Regions from separate parts of the Homo sapiens genome. Here region 1 is linked to region 2. The links are contacts of gene promoters, found by promoter capture Hi-C in blood cells and fetal thymus (Javierre and others, 2016). All regions are on one chromosome and are shown on one strand. Each heading gives the region's core, a stretch centred on a gene start or on the middle of the fragment in contact. The rest is flanking DNA. Distances are from core to core; before and after follow the strand shown.

What was found. The method cuts DNA at HindIII sites, captures the fragments that hold promoters and counts their contacts. A CHiCAGO score of 5 or more calls a contact.
Region 1: a fragment that was not itself captured here is called in contact with the fragment with the promoter of NADK2-AS1 in region 2 in 1 of 17 cell types (megakaryocytes); the score reaches 5.5 in megakaryocytes.

What each region holds. Positions count from the first base shown.
Region 1 is chr5:36,703,266-36,705,981 of GRCh38, reverse strand. The region is part of intron 1 of SLC1A3-AS1 (SLC1A3 antisense RNA 1); the gene reads left to right. Among named protein-coding and RNA genes, the nearest start is that of SLC1A3-AS1, 21 kb to the left of the region's middle. The HindIII fragment of the contact is 1,750 bases long and covers 376-2,125 here.
Region 2 is chr5:36,218,933-36,222,809 of GRCh38, reverse strand. NADK2-AS1 (NADK2 antisense RNA 1) reads right to left here and starts at 1,755. Exons shown (of 2, transcript NR_170324.1): 1 at 1,401-1,755; 2 at 909-1,272. It overlaps NADK2 (NAD kinase 2, mitochondrial), which reads left to right. Exons shown (of 12, transcript NM_001085411.3): 5 at 3,131-3,214. The HindIII fragment of the contact is 935 bases long and covers 1,649-2,583 here.

The DNA of each region.
Region 1 (2,716 bases), core at 1-2,500, 480 kb before region 2:
ATCTGTAGCCTCATGGCAGGGACCAGGAGGGGCCTACAGCACATAGGTGGTCCTGCTAGCTAATTGTTTTTCTTTTTTAAAGAGTGATTCAATATTAACCATCTTAAATTGAAAATTATTCTTTTGGCAGATGTCCTCCAAAATGGATTGCCTCATATCTAGTACCCGCCTGCTGCAGGCTTCTTCATCTAGTTCCTCTGGGGACACACTGTGCAGCTAATTCATCCAGGCAGATTCACTGGGAAGCTGTTGCTCATGAGGGTATTTCTGAGACTTTTTTTTGTGACCTTGCTGTATGACTGGTAAGACGCGACTTAGTATTTTCCATGCCAAGAATATCAGAGCCATGACCCATGGTATAGAATGCTGCAAGCTTAGCCTTCATTTGTTGCCATGCTAGAGCAGACTCTGTTTCTCCAGGAAATTCCTGGTTTTGCTCATGGGAGACCCTGCAGATGCTCACTTTGCCACTCGCTGATCTGATCTCAAGAGCATCTGGATCTGCCTTAACCAGCATCTCAGGCTCCCTACGCACTGAGTTCTTGACTGGAAACTAGTAATCTGTATTTCCCTGGGGCCACACTAAAGGGGGATGAGGGGCGGAGTTAAGTTGCAATAACAAGACCAAAGTTGGGTATCTCTGGCTCACTGGCTGTCTCTGTCTAGACTCTCAGGCTTTTCGACCTCCCCTCTGTGTGCTCCACCCTGCAGTCTTCCTGATGATTCCAGAGGCTCCTGCTGTTTCCTTCTCTCCAATCCCCAGGTTGGCCTCCTGGGCCCTGGCTCCCAGGTTGCTGCTCAGGCTGCCTGGATACTTCTCTCTCCTGCTAAATTTCAGTCACAGTGGGCTTTTCTCAGTCTCAACTTTCTATTTTTATTTATTTTGCCCCTGTTGCTGCTGATTCTTTATTCTAACTTACAATAGTATTGCATGTGTTCTTGTTGAAAAGCTCTTCAAATTCTCCATGGACCAATACAGGACACAAATAAGCAAACAAGAATATTAATGTTGATGTCCCTCTCTCCAGCAAAAGATTGGTGATGAGCGTCATCAATTTATTTTAATACAGCACATTGAAAGGGCAGGCGTGGTGGTGCAGATTTCACTCATTTCACTATGGCAATCGAGGGAGGTCTTGGTTGCTGACCAGGAAAGGAAAGCTATACCCAATCAGGCACACTTTCCAGATATTCCAGATAGGTAAATGGTCCATGAAACCATAAAACCAGAAATGAATCTCAGGGATGAAGAGTGGAAAAAAATCATCACCTGGGTCTTTCCTTTTTGTAAAGAAAAGAAAATCAATAGAGCTAACTGCATTTCCGCAGTTGGAAAATGTTTTCTGACATAAATAAAAAGTATAACAATTTTAGGTCAATTGGAGGCATTAACAATCAGATAAAATGGTCATTTTGGATTATGCATCCAGGGTAGAAGTGATCCTGCTGGAAACTTGTGACACTTGTCTGTCTGATTGTTGGTCTCTCTTTTTCTTCTTCTCTTTCTCTCCCTCCTCACCTCTTACTGTGCATTCTTTCCCATATCTTTTCCTCCCTTTGCCTACTACTGGGTGGAGTTTCCATGTGGGCCCCACTGTTGTGCTAAGAATAGCACTAGCTGCTATTTATCAAGGCTTTACCACTTGCCAGGCACTGTGCAGAGCACCCTAGATACATTACCTCACTTATTCTGCCCAACAGCCCTCCAGGAGGATGGGCATATTTGTGTAATGAACCCGGTCTGACATGGTGTTTAATTGCTTTATTATGTTCTTTGTCAGCACTCCAAATAATAAAGTTTGTTGGTATTCTCAACTTTTTCATGCTTGACTTAAAATATATTGTAAATATTATGTTGGCCACTTGAACTAGCAGGCAGATTATGGGGAATTGGAGTTATGCTTTATTATTATTATTATTATTATTATTTATCCTTTCCCTGAGCAGTAATTACTGGCGGTAATGAAAGTTCTGGGAGCTGTTGTTTCATATTGAAATTTAACTGCTTCCTTCCCCAAAGTAAAATAGATACTGGTGAGATGGAGCCAGGATGAGTAAGGGCATAAGATGTAGGAAGGTGTTAAGTTTTGAACTCAACTTCTCCTTATTGGCTCAATATTAAGCTTCATTTTCAATGCATAATTACATGAGAAAATGAAAGTGCCAAGTCTCTACACTGTACATTCCCCAGGCAAGAACTTCCAGGTTGTCTGTGGAAAATCCAGCCTTTTCAGTGGGAAATCAGGAGAGGAAGGTTGGTCAGTGGAGGCTGGGGTTTCTGTTTTGGTTTTTTCTTCCTCCTGGAGTGTACATTACCTCTACTTTGCTCACCGTCCTAGTGAACTCACCTGTGTACAGAGTTCTCCAGAGTTCTTCTGCTTCCCAGGTAAAGCCCTGAAGATTGCTTTCAAAGTCAGAATCTTTGGGGCTCCTGGGACTGGCACATGGTCCACCGCCAGGCAGCCCAGTTTCCACATGGGGGCACGGAGCCAACTGGAGCGCACTGAGGGAGCACAGCCTTGCATCAGATGCTAATGATCTTTCATCACGTGCTCTGACAATGAGGCTAGAACAACCATAGTTGAAACTGATGCAACAGGATGGAAGGGGCTGGGAGCACTGGGAGTTAAGTTACCCTTGTGAAAGGGAAGACAGAAAGGAAGGTTAAAAACAATATCTTGAGGCACTGAATTTAAATTACCAGCTGCATATTTAC
Region 2 (3,877 bases), core at 506-3,005:
GAACTTACTTTTGAGTCCATCTCTTGCCATCCTCGCTGCCACTAAAAATAGCTCAGCCCTTTATAGTTTGTTTAAATTACTGAACTAGCTTACAGTCTCTCTCCTTCTAACTCATCCTTTACACATTGCCTTAGTCTTCTTTCTAAAGTGCAGATCTAATTGATTATATCCACTTCTTATTAAATCTTTTAGAGTTTCCCATGACCTTCAGGATACATTGTAAATTCCTTAGCATAATACATATTATCTTTCACTGTCTCTTGCCTGTTTGCTTTTCTAGTTTCACCTGTCCTCATATGTCCACAGGCATGACACATTCTTTAGCTTAAAAAATATATTTTTGGAAACTTTTCTAGGATCAGCCTGGGATCCTTTCTAAAAGGCTGTTCTTAACTGCAAAATGTAACTATATGAGTGTCCACCAACATGCTGGTTAGAGGCTCACACAGGGATGCTTTTACTCTGGTGGGGAGCTTTGTTGATATGATGACCCAAGGCGTGATTTGAGAGTAGGTGAAAGAGTTCTCCAGAAGGCCTATGTCCCCCTAACCCACCCACCCATGCCTTTGTATGTGCTTTTGTCAAAAGTTCCCTTATACCACTTACTCACTTCTGTGTTTCTTGTTTGTTCAAGACTGGTGTTTCTCCTGGGTTGTAATTCCCTCTACAGAAAGCACTTATCCCTATATATTTATTTTCTGTTTCTTTTTCTCTTTCATTAGACTATAAATTCCTTGAGTATAGGACCTTGTATTTTAATTTCTCTGTCACTAGCATAGTTTTATACATAGCTGGTAGGCAATAAATGAATTGAAAAATGAATGATTGATTCAGTGATTTTAGGGAATAGGGATAGAACCCCAGTCTAGCTGAGTAAATATTCCCTGAATGTAAATAATAGAGATCATTGGTTCAGTAATTAATTTTTAATTGCCATCAGTGTTGATGCATTTGGGTTTTAGAACTTCTTAATGGCTTATTTTTATATCATTAAGGTAAAAGATCACTTTAGTGATCATATGTTACACAGTTTATTGAACTATATTTTCTTTTGGAAACTGGCTTCATATTCATAAATTTGTGGGAATTTGAAGCTGGCAAGCAATTGTTAATATTGTCATCTCTTCTCTATTTTCTAGCTAGAAGAACAGGTGTTAGAAGTTCTTTGGTTTCTCTTCTTGCCTCCAGGCAGATATGTTAAATTGCCTTCTGGTTTTGTGTATGCTTCAAGTTGTCTGATTTCTTTATCTTAAATATAGTGGTGTCTCAGTCCTTAAAAAAAGCCCAGAAGTTAATGTTCAACTTAAGTTTTTTCTCCTATTTATTAGTTGTCAAATGCTGCATAACTAATCACCCCAAAACTTAGAGGCTTATGACAGTAACAGTGTATTATTTCTTACGGGTTGTGCATGTCGGAGTTCAGGAGCAGTTTGGCTGGGTGGTTTTGGCTTGAGATCTCTCCTGAGGATAAGTAGATGTCAGCTTGGTCTGTAGGCATCTGAAGGCTTGACTTGGGCTGGAGGATCCACTTTCAAGATGGCCCACTCACATGGACTCATCTAAATCAAATGTGTAATTTCTATCCATCTCTTCTGTATTCTATAGCCACTCTACCGAGCCTGGTAAATAATTACAACATTTGAAAGCTTAATATTCAAAATGGGATAGAGGGCATGTGGTAGTCAGCCTCCAAGGTAGCTTCCTAGTATTTAGGTACCCTTTAATGTACTCCTCCCTGCCCCCCAATATTCAATCAAGGATGGCCTGTGTGACCAGTAGAATATGATGTGAGAATGTGTAGGTTCCAAGGCCAGGTCATAAATGGTATTGCAGCATCTGTATTGGTCTTTAGGATTGTTCATTGTGGGGTAGGACAGCCACCATGATGTGAGGATACTCACAAGCAGCTCTGTGGAGAGGCTCACGTAGAGGGTGATTGAGGCCTCCTGCCAATGGCCAGCACCAATTTGCCAGCCATGTGAGTGAGCAACCCTGGAAGTGGTCGTGCTAGTCCAAGTCAAGCCTTCAGATGCCTGCCGCCCTAGCTGATATCTGACTGTAACCTCATGAGAAAGTCTTCTCTCTGCAAGGGTTTTAGACTTGCAGTTGACCTCAGCAGGTATTATTCTATCAAATGACTGTTGATACCTTTTATATACTTAACATTGTGTGAACTATTACAATGAATATAAAAATTTAAAAACCTAGGCCTTACGCTTTCTTAACCTCAGTGTTGACCTGCTTAGATAAAGAAGTTGACTATTCACAACTTTGTAAAAACACTTTTCTGTGCCCTTCACGCTTACAAGTTGATTTACATTTATTATCAGGAGTTTGTTTTGCTAAGCCTACCCTCAGCCTTTTCTTCAAGATTGGAGTATCATTAAATGATGATGACTGAGCCTTCTGGACATCTTTAGGTGCCACATACTCTCATCTACACCAACCAATAGGCAATCTTACCACCTTATAATTTGCAATGGTTTGTTTTAATTTGTCTTCCACATCAAGCTATGAACTCCTTAAAGGAGTTTCATTATTTATGTATTTTTGAATAAATGAAGGATTACATTGGATTAAGCTTTCTCAGTTCTTTTTTAGTGACTTAGGATATCTTAAATGACATTTCAGAAAGGATTATGGTTCAAAACATTTCACATAAATATTTTGATTCCTTTTGAGATTGCTGGTTTATCCTGATTTTGGAGATGAGGAAGCTGATGCTAAAGTGACTTGCCCAAAGTTAATAGTTAAATAATTTAAAGGTTAGAATAAAAATTGGAAGGTTAGTAGTTAAATAATGATTTGAACAACACTGTACCATTAAATAACTTTACAGGGTAATTAGTAGCAGATTTGCTGCTATTTTTAGTTTCATTGTAACGTAGAAACTCACATATTATTATGTATTATGGCATTAAAGCTGGATGTAGACTACTAATTCTATCTGGTCTTTTTTGTTTTTATTTAAAGAACACAATTTTGTGGCAAAAAATGGAATATAGGGTAGACATTTTTAGAATTTCATTTCTTATTTTTATAGCTTAGTGATACCTTTTGATTAAATTTTTTTGCTTCACCTTTTTTCTTTTCCTCTTTATATCACCAAAAAATTCCTGTTAAAATATAGGTCTGAGGGTCATTTATGCCTGCCCGTTCGATATACACATTCCTTTCCAGAAGCCTTACAGAAGTTCTATCGTGGTGAGTTCAGGTAGGAATTTCTTACGGTTGTTCTTATGTAAGTATCTTAATAAGTATGTGCCATTAATAATGCTGTTAAAAAACAGAACAAATCAGGCAGGGCACGGTATCTCACGCCTGTAATCCCAGTACTTTGGGAGGCCGATGCGGGTGGATCACTTGAGCTCAGGAGTTTGAGACCAGCCTGGGCAACATGGTGAAACCTTGTTTCTACAAAAAATACAGAAGTTAGCTGGGCATGGTGGCAAGCACCTGTAGTCCCAGCTACTTGCGGGGCTGAGTTGAGAGGATCACTTGAGCCCAGGAGGTAGAGGTTCCAGTGAGCCGAGATCATGCCACTGCACTCCAGCCTGGGTAACAGAGTGAGACTGTGTCTCAAAACAAACAAACACACAAAAAACCAGAACAAATCAGATAATGTTTGGATTACTCCATAGATATAACAGTAGCCATTAAAAGTAATGTATTAGCTGAGTCACAAATAGGTCTAATTTACCTTCTCCTAGTCCAGTTGGAATTGTGGAGAGAAACCCTGACAAATATTGGTTGGCCTATAATATAACTGCATATAGAAATTTTTTTTCTCCTTCAGTGAGATAGCAGGCATGTCTCTACTTTCTTAACCTCGTTACATGTCCTTATCAGTTTAGTGGAAAGGTAATTAAAACTTTGG